3 separate regions of the Homo sapiens genome follow, and regions 1 and 2 are each linked to region 3. Evidence: promoter capture Hi-C in human tissues and cell types (Jung and others, 2019). All regions are on one chromosome and are shown on one strand. Each heading gives the region's core, a stretch centred on a gene start or on the middle of the fragment in contact. The rest is flanking DNA. Distances are from core to core; before and after follow the strand shown.

Evidence for each region. Contacts are between HindIII fragments. The study calls those that stand out against the background at their distance.
Region 1: the fragment with the promoter of PDE9A here is called in contact with the fragment with the promoter of PKNOX1 in region 3 in 1 of the 25 tissues and cell types used here (spleen).
Region 2: a fragment that was not itself captured here is called in contact with the fragment with the promoter of PKNOX1 in region 3 in 1 of the 25 tissues and cell types used here (hippocampus).

The regions. Positions count from the first base shown.
Region 1 is chr21:42,649,821-42,654,870 of GRCh38, forward strand. PDE9A (phosphodiesterase 9A) reads left to right here and starts at 3,801. Exons shown (of 20, transcript NM_002606.3): 1 at 3,801-4,063. The coding sequence starts at 3,995. LOC101928255 (a long non-coding RNA gene) reads right to left here and starts at 3,838. Exons shown (of 3, transcript XR_244322.4): 1 at 1,770-3,838; 2 at 744-920; 3 at 1-623. RefSeq lists an enhancer at 2,765-3,486. The HindIII fragment of the contact is 36,096 bases long and covers 1-5,050 here.
Region 2 is chr21:42,527,170-42,531,526 of GRCh38, forward strand. All of the region lies in intron 3 of SLC37A1 (solute carrier family 37 member 1), which reads left to right. It overlaps LOC107987299 (a long non-coding RNA gene), which reads right to left. Exons shown (of 2, transcript XR_007067878.1): 2 at 1-1,656. Among named protein-coding and RNA genes, the nearest start is that of SLC37A1, 15 kb to the left of the region's middle. The HindIII fragment of the contact is 7,112 bases long and covers 1-4,357 here.
Region 3 is chr21:42,971,514-42,976,180 of GRCh38, forward strand. PKNOX1 (PBX/knotted 1 homeobox 1) reads left to right here and starts at 3,049. Exons shown (of 11, transcript NM_004571.5): 1 at 3,049-3,151. RefSeq lists enhancers at 1-725, 3,848-4,574 and silencers at 2,237-2,396, 2,707-3,096, 3,227-3,546, 3,687-3,886. The HindIII fragment of the contact is 23,812 bases long and covers 1-4,667 here.

The sequences.
Region 1 (5,050 bases), core at 2,551-5,050, 320 kb before region 3:
ACCTCCAGAATCTCCTCCATCTCCAGCCTCCTTCCCTGTGACACACGGGCAGAATCTCACACTCTGTCTGAAGTTTCCAGACAGTTGGAAACGTCGCTCATGCATATATGAACTCAGTCACCACGTTCCCCAAAGACCCAAGGCCTGAGCTGAGGAGGCATTCGACCCCAGCCAGCGTCCCCAGCCTCGTCCCCCCAAGGGTCCCCAGCCTCATCCCCACCCAAGGTCCCCAGCCTCAACCCCACCCAGGGTCCCCAGCCTCGACCCCAGCCAGGGTCTCCAGCCTCGTCCCCACCCAGGGTCCCCAGCCTCGACCCCACCCAGGGTGGCCAGCCTCGACCCTACCCAGGGTCCCCAGCCTCATCCCCACCCAGGCTCCCCAGCCTCGACCCCACCCGGGGTCCCCAGCCTGGCCTGCGGCCTGCCTGGCAGAGGCAGGAGGTTCCCTTCGTTTTTATCTTGATTCTGAGGAACGAACATTGGCTGCATTCCCGACAGCCGGGCCAGGAGCAGGGATGTAGGTTTAGGATACCAGGAGACCCTGGGGCTGATGTGGGGGGCACAGAGCAGGCGCCACTTCTGGAACCTTCCCCACCAAGGCTGTTCAGGACCAACGAGCATGACTGCAGGCAGAGCCAGGGGAAGGAAGGCAGAGAATAGGCATAATGCCCACCTAGGAAATAGGCACAAATGAAGACCCCACAACCTCCAACTTGGATGCGGAGTCAACCATTCCTCACTACCTGCACTGGTGAGGTCTGTGTGTCCACCTGGCCAGCCCGGGATGCCCAATAGCTGGGGATGCGCTGTTTCTGGGGGAGTCTGTGAGGTGCCTCTGGCTGAGACCAGCGTTTGCAGTGGTGGACTGTGGCGAGCAGATGCCTCCCTGTGTGCATGGGATCATGCAACCCCTTGAAGGGCTGAAGAGAACAAGAAGGCAGAGGAAGGAGGAACTTGCCTCTTTCCTCCCACCTGCCTGCTTGGGCTGGGACACTGGCCTTCTCCTGCCCTGGGACTGGGTCCCCACCATCAGCTCCCGGGTGCTGCCCTCAGGCTTGCACTGGAGCCACACCACCAGCTTTCCCGGGGCTCCGGCTTGCAGGCGGTAGCTGGCAGGACTTCTCAGCCTCCGTCCTCATGTGAGCCAACTCCTCACTATTGGTCTGCTTCTCTGAAGGACCCCAACTCATGGGTCCACCTGACCGTGGTCCAAGTCCCATCACACTTTGCAAAGCTGACTGCAGCTGCTGCTCACTGGCCTCCCTGCCTGGCCCCTTCCATGCACCCTCCTCCAGCATCCAAGAGGATCCTGTGAAAACCCACGTCAGACCATGGCCCTCTGCACCGCCTCCTGCAAGGCATGCAGTGGAGGAAGAGTGACCTCAAGTCACTCGTGTGACCACGCGGGGTTGCCCCCGTCACCTCTCTGACCTCACAGCCCACTACGGTCCCCCACAGCCCACTCCCTCCCTCCGCTCTGGCCACGTGGCCTCCTGCATAAGGCTGCTTCTGTGCCAGAACGTCCTTCCCTCTGACACACACAGGCTCCTTGCTCCTAACACCTGTAAGATCCCTCCTCCTATGTGACCTTTTGCCTGGCCACTTTCTCTAAAATTCCAACTCCCTCACACTGCACATTCCCTCACACTGCACATTCTATATCCCCTTCCCCGCAGGATTTTTCTTTTTTAGAGATGGGGTCTCACTATGGATTTTTCTTCTTTGCCTTAATTTTTATCCAACACCCTACACATTCTATTTATTTATACCATCGTGTCTGTCTTCCCCAGAGAATGCCAGCTTCTTCAGGCCAGGGATCTCTGCTTATTCTGTTCACTACTGAATTCCCAGTGCCCAGAACAGCACCCAACACGCAGTAATGAGATTGTTGACGAATGGAAGACCGCACTGCTCCATGGGGATCTGGGAGAGGAAAGGGTTCCTCTCTAGGCAGCTGCTGAGGCCTCATCGATCCAGTATCTACACAGGGGTCCAGTCCAGCTCCTAAAAGTGCAAAGTAATTATAGATGCGATTATTCTCCTGAGCACAGAATCAGCCAGGCAGTGTGAGGGGCCAGCCTGCACTGGTGCTGGACGCACACAGAGTCTCAGAGCCACACCCTCCACCCTCCTGGGGAACTGCCCTGCAGAACCACCCCCCATGGGCGGGCACTCGTCCTTCTGGGGCTCTTGGAGGAAATGGTTACAGAAGACTAGGCCAGATGACAATAAGGGATGGAGAATAACTAAGTGCCAAGCCAATGAGCCATCTGCTGGTAAGAACTCCATGCCAGGCAGCACAGGCGGTCCCAACAGCACGATCTCTGGATTAGCCCAAATAGCATCGGAACATTTGACAACAAATTGAACTACTAGTAATAGTGCTCACTTCAATGAGCCGGGGACACAGTATCCCCATGGCGAGTCAGCTGGCCCGCTGTAACCACCCAGCTGGGTCTCCCCACCCCAAAGGCCTCCAGGCTGTCCCCTTCTCATCCTGTCACTTGAAAAGCACAACTCATGGTGCCAAAGCTCTGACACGGACTCCACTGGAGCTGTGGGCAGGGGGTGCCAAGGTACCGAGTTCCAAGCCGTTGTTATTTGAGAGCGTGCCCCCCGCCATGAGAGCAGGTGGGGGGACATAAAGTGACACAGGATGGACTGGCCAAAGGCTGAGGACGATCACTTACCTCACAGGATGATGCCACCCCCACGGACAGGCAAGGAGCTCTCACCTTCCCCAGGACCCCAGCTGCCACCAGAGCTCCAGATGGCCCTGGGGGTGTCTGTAAAGCCTGTGACCGTCCACCAGGTGGAGACCAGGCTGGCCAGGGGAGGGAGAGGAAGTGACCACTGGCCCTGGCACTGGCTGGCCGGCTCCAGCAGGCCCGAAGGGGAGGGAGGAGCCTGGGTGCACCAGACTCTCTCAATAAGCAGCACCCAGACACTTAACAGATGGAAAGCGGTGGCTTGGAACTCACTTCCAACGAAACAATAGCACATGCTCCGGCTGGCTTTGACACTTGCTTCCAAAGGCGACCTGCACCCAGGGCCAGGACCACGGCATCTGAGCCTCCTCCCCCAGCCGCCAACCCCATTCCCAATGGAGGAGCCCAGGAGAACTGGGGGCGGCCAAGGCAGCCCTTCCCTGCTCCGCAGATCCAGAGGATGCCCACAGCCCCCTTCCCCTCCCGCCTTTCCCACACTCCCTGTAGCAATTCACACAAGCGGGGAGGGGACGAAACTGCTGAATCCAGCAGATAGCTTGTGGCGGGGTAATCCTCGGTCCGGCCCCATACAGGACAGAAATAAAATCGCCATTTCAGCTCCGGGCGCAGCTGGAGGAGGCTGACGCCCCCTAGTTAGGGGAAGGCTGTGGGTGACCGAGAAGGAACTTTTCCCGTTTTCTATTCAAATGAAATGAGGGTGGCGGTCGCAGCAGGGAGAGAGGAGCGAGGGGAGTTTTCCCGGCGGGGCTGGGGGGTCCACAGCGGCGCGGCCACGCTCAGCCCAGCGCTGGCTTAGGAGGGACGGGCTGCGTGGGGAGGCGACGGCTCCGGGCCGAAGGGGTCGCTCAGGGCTCTGCACAGCTGTCCAGGGGGCATCGGGAGATAGGCAGCCGACCGGGGGCTGGAGTCAAGGGAAGAAGAAAGAGGGGGAAGGGAGGTGCAGGGAGTGAAGAGGAGGGGAGAGAGGAGAGACGGGGGAGGGAGGGGGGAGGGGGGAGGGGGAGGGGCGGGCGGGCGGCCGGGAGGAGGAGCGCGCGAGCCGGAGTCGGAGCCCGAGCCCGAGCGCGAGCCGAGCGGAGGAGACCCTGCGGCGCGCGGCGGCGGCTCCCGGGCGTCCCGGGCCCGGTGGCGGCGCGGCTGTGGTTGGCTGAGCGCCGCGGGCCGCCCCCCGCCCGCCCCCTCCCCTGCTCCCCTCCCCCGCCTCCCGCGGCGGCTGGCGTCGGGAAAGTACAGTAAAAAGTCCGAGTGCAGCCGCCGGGCGCAGGATGGGATCCGGCTCCTCCAGCTACCGGCCCAAGGCCATCTACCTGGACATCGATGGACGCATTCAGAAGGTAGCCCCTCCCCCACCCAGACACCCCCTCCTCCCCCCGGGTGACAGCGCCGGGGCCGGGCGCGGCGGGGCGGGACTGTCCGTGCGTCTGCCGGTCCAGGCTGCGGCCTCCGTGCGCTCCGCCAGCTCTGGTCGGGGGCGGGGGTCCCCACGCGCCGGCTCCCCGGGGAAAGGGGCGACTCGCCCTGGGGGGTGGGGGGTGGGGGGGCGGGCTAGTGTTTCCGTTTCACAGGCAGAGCTTTTCTTTTTGAAAATCTGATTAGGCTGAGTTTTTACATTCAAGGGCTGGCACATGAAGCCTTTAATTTCCGGTGGATCGGCCCGCCGGGCAGCCCCGGGGTCGTGGTCCGCGGAGGGGGCGAGCAGCCGCCGCTTCCTGTCGCGCGGGGGCAGGTGCGGGGGGCGCCGGCGGGGACACTGCTCCCCCGCAGGTGAGTAGCTCCGACTGCAGAGGGGGACTCGGGCCGCTGCACCTCCGGGGCCCCGCGGAGAGCCTGGGGGGCAGCGGGTCCGGCTCTCCCCTGCTGTGCGGAGATAGGAAGTCCCTCGAATGTCCAGCGTTCCTAGCGGACTTGAGTTACACGGGAGAGGGGTTCAGAATAGACCCCCTTTGTTCGTGGCCCCCTCTGACGGGCAGGGAGGGACAATGAGCGCGCCGGCTTGGAAGGGGCTCTCATGAGCTCCCCCTAAAGTCCCCAGGGAAAAGCCATTGTGAGGAAATCCCTCAAACCTCAGCTGGGCGTTTCAGGAAGCCCTTGCAGCTGCTTCTCACCTTTCTGCCCACGGAGTACTCCACTGAAGGAGGCCAGGGAGAGATGCCCCAGCCAGGCACAGAGCAGGTGCCGGCCAGGCTTGAGTCTTTCCTGTTCCCAGAGGTGCATTTGGCCAGTTTAATCAGTAGATTTAAGCCAACAAGCCTCCCTCACCCTGTGCCCGGCTTGATCCCCGTGAAATGGAAAGTACAGCCCTCTCCCACCGTAGCCCGCTT
Region 2 (4,357 bases), core at 98-2,597, 450 kb before region 3:
AGTGCTACGTGCAGGGATGGGCATCTCCATGAAGGCACCACCTGTTGGGCTGGGGGGCTGTTGGGGCAGATGTAGCGTGTAAGGTGGGCTGGCCTTTGGGGGAATCTTTGTCAGGCCACAGCTGTTGGGGTCCACCTGATGACTATGAGGGCCCCTGTGAGCCAGGAGCAAGTGGGAGCCCTGTCCCGGTCCCTCTCCCGGCTTTCCTGGTGGTCCATCTCAAAGCCCCCGCCCCTGACTCTCGTGTGTAGTGGTGTCCAGGCCACTCAAGACTTAGGGCTTCTGAGGAGGCGGCGTCAGGGTCAGCTCTTAGTTCAGTGTCATAAGTAACAATATAAATAACTGCCGCTTACAGAGCCCTGGGGTATGACAAACTGCCACATACATTACCCCTGTGATCCTCACAGCAACCCTGCGAGTGCCCCTGTGAGGAAATTGAGGCTCGGGTCTTCGTTCCCCAGGCAGGGCTGCCACACACTCGAGAATTCCCTGTGGGTCAGGCTGCCTCCAGGGCCCCTACTCATCCTCTCTGTGCCTCAGGGTTTGTCCGGGTTTAATTACCTGAGTACAGTCCCAGCATCACCCTCAGAGCCTCCTAAACGCACAGATTTCCTGACCTAGCAGCTGCGATGTGCCTGGGCATGGATTGGCTTGACGCTGAATCCTGTGGGTTTCTTTACCTTTCAAGATAGATCAGAACATCACACCACATCAAAACTAAACTTTATAGTGCCTTCTGAAGCGCCCGTGTGCTTGAGCTCATGATATAAATGGCATCAACGAAACTGAAAGTAGTAGTGATTCTGTTGACCCACAAAACAGTTGAGTGATTATTTATAGCCTGCATTTCCCAGAATATTGTAAGCAAAACCAAAGCAAAATGTATTTGCTTACTTGAAATTGAACCAGAGGCTGTGAATTAGAAAGTGAGTCTTATTCTGTTATGTCATTTATAGAATGACACGGCACACCAGGTCACATTTAAGTTAGTTAAATGGAATGTTTAGACTTACCTTTGATCACTGCTGATTAATTGTATTTTTCTCGATGATGATGATAAAACCAGGGCTGGGAGGATAGTGGTGTTATAAGTGCAACCCTGTCCCTTCTATCTGCTGCTCCAGCTGTGGCCTAGCCTCAGGACTCAAGGCAAGCGTCTGCCCAAGCTGGTAGACAGGTGAGTCTGACTCCCAGCAGAGATCTTAGTGCGAGCTCTTTTCACCTGGACTGGGCCAGAAAAGAAACCTGAAAGCAGAGGCTTCCCGGAGAAGCTTAAACTGCAGGGGTCCCTGGAGCCAGGGGGATGGCAGCATTGATTTGAATGTGAGTGTGCCCACCCCTCTCTGGACACACAGGACTTAAAAGGAGAAAACTGGCTAGGCGCAGTGGCTCACGCCTGTAATCCCAGCACTTTGGGAGGCCGAGGTGGGCGGATCACCTGAGGTCAGGAGTTCAAGACCAAACTGGCCAACATAGTGAAACCCTATCTATACTAAAAATACAAAAAAAATTAACCAGGCATGGTGACAGGCGCCTGTAATCCCAGCTACTGGGGAGGCTGAGGCAGGAGAATAGCTTGAATCCGGGAGGCGAAGTTTGCAGTGAGCCGAGAGCGCACCATTGCCCTCCAGCCTGGGCGACAAAGTGAAACTCCATCTAAAAAAAAATGAAATAAAATAATCCTCAGTGGCAGACAGAAAACAAAGTCTGAAAAGCTGGAAGTATGTACTATGGGTGGGAAACTTGTTATTTGGAAAGTTCCAATTCTCCCAGTGTTAATATTTAAATAAAATGCAACTCCAGTGAAAATCTTAGCAGGGTTTTTTTTAATTGAATAAAATAATCTTAAAGTTTGTATGAAAGAATGTCCAGGAATTATCAAGAAAAGTGTAAAGATAACATTTTATGATATGAAAATATGCAAAAGATTAACATATTTTAATACCATAATCAAATTATGATATTACATGAGAATAGACAAAAAAGTCAGTAGAATAGATTAGAAAATATGGAATATTTGACAGAGCTTATTTAATAAATTTAATAAATGGTGTCGGCACAACTGGTTATTCGTCAGGAAGAAATAAATGTTGAATCCCTATTTTATAAAAACAAATGGCCCGGGCACTGTGGCTCACACCTGTAATCCCAGCACTTTGGGAGGCCGAGGCAGGTGGATTACCTGAGGTCAGCAGTTCGAGACCAGCCTGACCATCTCTACTAAATGTACAAAAGTGAGCTGGGCATGGTGGCGGGCACCTGTAATCCCAGCTACTTGGGAGACTGACGCATGAGAATCGCTTGAACCTGGGAGGCGAATGTTGCAGTGAGCCGAGACCACACCACCGCACTCCAGCCTGGGTGACATGAGTGAGACTCCATCTCAAAAAAGTAAAATAAAATAAATGGATTAAAGACATGAATGTAAAATACAAAAAGTACAAATCCAAGAAGAAAATTATGTTTATCGTAGGAGTGAGTGTGAAGTTAGGAAACCCAAAGAAACAACGGGCAAGGGGGATGAACAAGCAGTTTACAGACACGGAATTCAGATCGCCAGGAAATATGTGAATGGTGTTCGAGTCTGCCGGTATTCCATATGCAAATTAAGGCAACACTGTGCTCAGTGGCTGGCACAGCATTGCCCAGGGCAGTAAGCGCTATTCACTGGTCGTGAGGGGAGAGGAGTTTTCATGCGTTCTTGATGGGATGTCAAGCGTTAGCGCCTTTTGGTGACACCCAGTGAAATAAAAAACACTACAGCCTTCAGACATACTTCTGGGAATTTCACCCTAAAAATAAAAGCACCTTACTTAGGAATATCTTCATAAGCATCTTTATGGCAGCTTTGTAGTGACCAAAAAAAGCAAAAAGGAAAAAAAAACAATGCTGGATATCAAGGGAACCTAATAAGTAGGTAAAAGTTTGAATAAATTATCACAAGTCCGTATTATGAAATGTGCAGGTCCCTAAAAGAATTCATCACAGGCAAACCAGTTGACTCAGAAACATTTCCAGGAGGTACTTTGAGTAAGAAGTTAACATGTGCATAAGGATGTATAGAATGATTCCATTTTTGAGAAGTAAACAATGACCAAGAAGCTCCTCCATCTATTTCTGTATCCTTCATGAGTGGAGCATTTGCGTGTCTGTCCCTGAGTGTGTATAATGCATTTCACGTGGCACCTGTGACTCATCGCAGGAGGCTGGCCGTGGGCAGGTGCTGTTGTCTGTGGGGGAGAGCCTGGCTGGTCGCTCCTACTTTTGGTACCAAAACTGTAATTGCTCTTCCAGGACTTAGATAATGCTTTGGAGAATTCTTGTAGCCTTATAAAAGGAATGTGAAGGACTGGTTAGAATCAGTGCACCCACACAGCCTAATGAGCCACGTAAAGTTGACTAGACAGATCGTCAAATGCAGATGATACACACACACACACACACACACACACACACACACACACACACACACACACACACACACACCCCCTCTGTGTTGGCTGAAGGTGGAGTGAAACTGGCCTAACCCCACTGTCCTCCAGGGGGATTCAGTGAGGCCTGAATCCCCTGCTCCTGTCCTGTCCTCTCACTGTTGCCTTTCAGTGGCTCCTGCACCCTCCAGACTGCCTGATAATCTCCTCTATTGGAGGCCACGTACCTGCTGCAGAGAATGTGTCGCGTGGCTGTAGTCTTAGGCAACTTAGGTGGGGCTGAGAACCCAGGGCCACTTCTGTCTGCGAAGTGGCTCAAATTCAGCATGGAAAGAACGGAGCCTTCATGGAATGCAGGCGAATACAGTGAATGTTTGTGCCTAAATGACTGCGTGGGGCTCTGCAGGTGTAGGATGAGGGAGGAGTCCAGTCTTTTCTAGTGTCATGAAATTCCCACCGCAGCTGCCTGCTGCTCCCCGGACGGGATTTCCTCTCGCTGCCAGTGGGAGGGGTGGGGAGGGCTGGATGTGGCGAGGGAGTCTGTAGACAGAAGACATTGCCAGCTCCCAGCCCCACCGCCTTCCCCGCACACTCGTCGCGCTGTGACTCCCGGCCCCGCCGCCTTCCCCGCACACTCGTCGCGCTGTGACTCCTGGCGGTTTTCTGTGTTCTTCCAGAAGATTGGCACCTTTCTTCTCCCACCCCCACCCTCCACCCGCGATGGCATCTGCTGTTTATTTTTGTTGCTGTTCTGTGTGTTGCATGGACGCTTTAGCAGCCGTGACGCCCGCGTCTTCACAGGGCCCACTCAGCCTCCCGCCTCACATAAGTGTGGAGTTCAGTTGCTGCAGAGGCTTTTGCCTGATCAGTTTTTAATATCTACCTGATGTCACAGGTTGATTTTGTATGTAACTTGTTGAAAGGCA
Region 3 (4,667 bases), core at 1,799-4,298:
TATAATCAAGAGCTAACAATATATGTATAAGCTGCCGGGGGAGGAAGGCAGGGCAGGAAAGAAAAACAAGCAAGCAAACAAACAAAAAGTATAAGCAACTGAGCAGCCACGCCACTGGTGGGCCTATGGAGTAGCTGTTCTTTTATTCCTTTGCTTTCTTAATAAACTTGCTTTCAGTTTATGGACTTGCCCTGAGTTCTTTCTTGCTCAAGATCCAAGAATCCCCTCTTGGGGTCTGGATCAAGACCCCCTTTCTGGCAACACATCCCGGCCTTTCCCCCTTTTCTGAAGACAGACTTCAGAAATGAAGAAAAAGAAGGGTGGCCGCTCATGGTGGGTGAAACGGCAAAGCAGCTGGCAGAGAAGGCACCTAGCTGATGACCCCAGAGTCTTCTGGGCCCAGAGTGGGATGGCAGGGCCTGGGCTTCTGTCTGCCCTGGACTTGCTGCAGCTGCTTCCTGGGCTCTGGGTGACCATGCGCTCAGGTCCTCCTGTGGAACTCCTGCTGTCTCACAGGCCAGATGCAAATAAATGAAAGCTTCAGACCGGGGGCAGGTGTAGGTGTGGCCAGTGAGCCCCGGGCTGCTTCCAGGGGCCTGAACAGCATGTCACAGGGCCCCTGCCCCTGCTGAGAAGGGCCCAGGCTTGGGGTAAGGTTCTGCTGTCACTGCCTTGAAATTCTTCACTGTAATTTCTGAGCCAGGGACTTTGTCTTACTGGAATGGGGTCTCAATCCAGATCCCAAGAGAGGGTTCTTGGAGTTTACACAAGAAAGAATTCAGGGAGAATCCACAGAGTAAAGTGAAAGTGAGTTTGTTAGAGAAGTAAATAAACCAAAGAATGGCTACTCCATAGGCAGAGCAGCCCCAAGGGCTGCTGGTTGGCTATTTTTATGGTCCTTTTTTTTTTCCCTAGAATCCGTTCCTGAATTATATTGGTTATTTCTTGATCACGTGCTAAACAAGGGGTGGATTATTCATGAGTTTTCTGGGAAAGTGGTGGGGAATTCCCAGAACTTAGGCTTCCTCTTCCATTTATTTATTTATTTATTGGAGATGGAGTCTTGCTCGTTGCCCAGGCTGGAGTGCAATGGCGTGATCTCGGCTCACTGCAACCTTTGCTTCCCAGGTTCAAGCGATTCTCCTGCCTCAGCCTCCCAAGTAGCTGGGACTACAGGTGTATGCCACCACGCCTGCTTAATTTTTTGGTATTTTTAGTAGAGATGGGGTTTCACCATATTGGCCATGCTGGTCTCAACTCCTGACCTCAAGTAATCTGCCCGCCTTGGCCTCCCCAAAGTGCTGGGATTACTGGCGTGAGCCACTGCGCCCGACCCCTTTTAGGCAATGTAGGGTATCTTCCAAACGTTGCCATGGCATTTGAAAACTGTCATGGCGCTGGCGAGAGTGTGTTTTACCAAGCTCATATATTATAATTAGTGTATAATCAGCAGTGAGGAAGGCCACAGGTCACTTTCCCCGCCATCTTGGTTTTGGTGGGATTTGGCCGGCTTCTTTACTGCATCCTGTTTTATCAGCAGGATCCTTGTGACCTGTGTCTTGTTCCGACCTCCTATCTCATCCGATTACTAAGAACGCCTTAACTCCTGGGGGGTGCGGCCCAGCAGGTCTCAGCTTCAGTTTACCCAGCCCATGTGGAGTCTCTCTGTTCCAACACCTATTGACACTTGCATCTGGATCTTGCACTAGGCTCTGCAGATTATGCTCAGTCTTGAATACTGAGCTTTTTTTGTCCCCTTGAACTTCCCTCCTTGGGCAAGTATCTCAGGGCCTCCCTCTTGCCCACCCTGCTGCTTCCCATCTTTCTGAAAGAGGCGGCTCTGCAGCTGCACAGCACTTGGCCAAGACCTCCTGGCGGTGTGGAGCTCTGAAGACACAGGAGGGATGTCCTCCGAGCTGTTCATGCCTAGACCTACCCCCAGGCTCCCTCTAGCAATCAGCTCCAGTCCTGGGCCTGTCTGCCTTCCGGGAGGAGTGGGGGCCCACAGAGCTGCCCTTCCCGCGCTGTGTATGGACTCAAGGCACTGATGGCCTTCGGTGGGCCACTGCATAAATGGATGTTTCTGCAGTATTGAAGGCCAGTCAGGCAAACCGTGTGCTTTCCTACGCAGTGGGGAATGTGTCGCCCTTTCCTTACATCTTGGAGACCAAAGCCACCATCTGCACTTGTGGGTACATTGTGGCAGTGGTCGGTTAGGGTGGTCTTTCAAAGCAGTTTGAAATGCAGACACTTGTGGGCGTCCCCTAAGGCAGGTGCCCTTTACCTGGAGGCCGCATTGGTCACCTAGACCCGCAAGGCTCACCTGGGCCGGAAGGTGTGGTCAAGCGAGGCCAAGTAGCCCAGAGGCCACCCCTAAGCACCTGTGGACATCATGAGTCCTTGCTGGGGTCCTCACAGAGGGAAGACAGCCCCCAGGGTAAAGCCTCAGGTGCTAAGCACTCGCGCTGCCGCAGGGGGGGAGGCACGTGAGCATCCACTGTGCCGCCCAGGACGGGCCCACCCGGGCTCCAGAGCCTGGGGAGGAAGGCTGCGAGGCTCCCACGGGCTTACATTCAAACCGGGCACACACAGAACGGAGGCCTTCGGCTACGGGACGCCCGGCGGTGGGGTTACGGATGGTACAGCCCTCCCTCCCCGCCTGCTCGAGGCAAATGGTTTCGCCCGGCTACACACACCTCTCCTGGGCGGCAACCGAGGGCGCGGAGGGGGCAAGACGTGCGCTGAGGCCACGCCCCTACTGCATAGTCATAAGGCGGGAGGCTCTGCCTTCGGGGCGGGGCAGACAGCTCCTCGCGCTCGGGCGCGGCCGGTTGGGGGCACGGCCTAGCTCCGGGTGCGGGCGGGGCTGGAGGCGGGGCCGGCCACCGCCCGGTTCCCGCCCTCGCTCTCCTCCCCCAGCGATCAGGCCCCGCCCCGCGCCCGCCGCCGCGCAGGGAGGGGCGGGGCCCGTCTCCGGCAGGCCCCGCCCCCTCTCTGAATATTGATGCGGCGCGCGTCGGCGTCGCCCTCCTCCCATTGAGCGAGGCTGTGTCGCGTGGCCCAGCGTCGGCGTGACGGTTGGACGCGGGCGCGGCACTGCGGGTCCCGATTGCTGCAGCCGCTTGTCAGTGTGATGAAGATTGGCACCCAGGTAAGCTGTCACTCAACCGCTCCGCCGCCGCCGCCGCCGCTCTCGCCGCCGCCGTCCCTATCAATCACACCGGCCCGCGGCCGCCGCCCGCCGCCGCCGCTGCCGCCCGGGTCTGGAGGGCCGGCGCTGCCCTCGAGGGCCCGCATTTGACCCGCCGCCCGGGGCAGGGGGCGGGGAGGGGGCGCGGGTGGGGGAGGGGAGCGGGCACCCGCGGGGGAGGGGGCGCCTTCAGCCCAACCGGCGCGGGGGCGCGCCCAGTTGGTTTCTTAGTGTGGGTTGAGGGACGCGGAAATTTCTGGAAGGCGCCGCCGCCGCCGCGCTGGGCCTGATCGAAGCGCGCGCTCCTAACCGTCCCTTTCGGAGTGCGGCGCGCGCCCCGGCGCGGGGCGGGGGCGCGCGGAGCCCGGCGCGGGCGGGGCGGCGGGCGTGAGGGTCGGGGGCGCGCGGCGGGGCGGGGCCGGGGCGGGCGGCGCGCGTGGGGCCGGTCGGGTCCGCGGCCTCGCGGAGTCCTCAGGGCCGGCGGGGCTGCTCGGAGGGTGCGGGGCGCGCGGCGGCGCAGGCGGGAAGATGGCGGCCGCGACCCCGGCCCCGGCCTCGGCCGTGGCGAGCGGGTGGGTCGGGGTCCTGGGGGCGGTGGGCGTGATGGGGCTCGTGGCCCTCAGCCGGGCGCCGGCGCGGGAGCAGCCCAGGGCCGCTCGCTGACGGCAGTGTTTGGGGCCGGGTGCTGGGGAAGCGGTTCCGGCGTCCCGGGAATTGGTGGGAAGAGCCGCTTCTGTCACACGGGTCGTGGTAATGGATGACAGGAAGTGCCGGGCAGGGTCTGGGCGCCCTGTGGGTTTGCACCTTCCTTGTGAGGGAAATCGTGTCACTTAACGAAAAATGAAGAAACGCGGAGTCTGCTTTATGTCATCCTCGTGGCTCTCGAAATGCCTTATTTGGACAGTGGCTCTGCGACGGGACCAGTTAGGGCCTCCGTTCCGATGGCGGATTCCTGACGGGAGGCCCGAGGGTCCGGGAATGGCGGCGTCCTGAGGTCGGGCCCAGGGCAGGCCAGGCTGAGCGCCACGGCGGGGCCGCAGCCCTGGGGGGTGTTCCACCTGTGTGTGGGGTTCTCTTCCAACTCTACGAGAGTTTGCTTTTTAAAACAGTAGATGATTTTTCCTTAGGAAGTGGTTCCTCTTCAGGATGAAAGAAACCCCCAGCTTTAGTTAGGTCTACTTTCATGATTTTTCCTGGCATACTGAAAAATAGGCTTTCTCTAAACATAAGGAAGAATCGAGGTGAAATGTGAACCTCTGCCAGTATAGTTATTGGTGATGCTCTTGCATTTAGTCATAATTTGGAAGATGGCAGGCTGACCCCAATGAGCCTTTCATCACTCTGCTTAATTTACTTAGAGTGATTTGTGAATCCTGTCCTTGTACACAGGCGTACCTCAGATAATTCGAGTTCTAATCCAGACCACCGCAGTAAAATAAGTATTGCAGTAAAGCAAGTGACGCAACAGTTTTAGGTT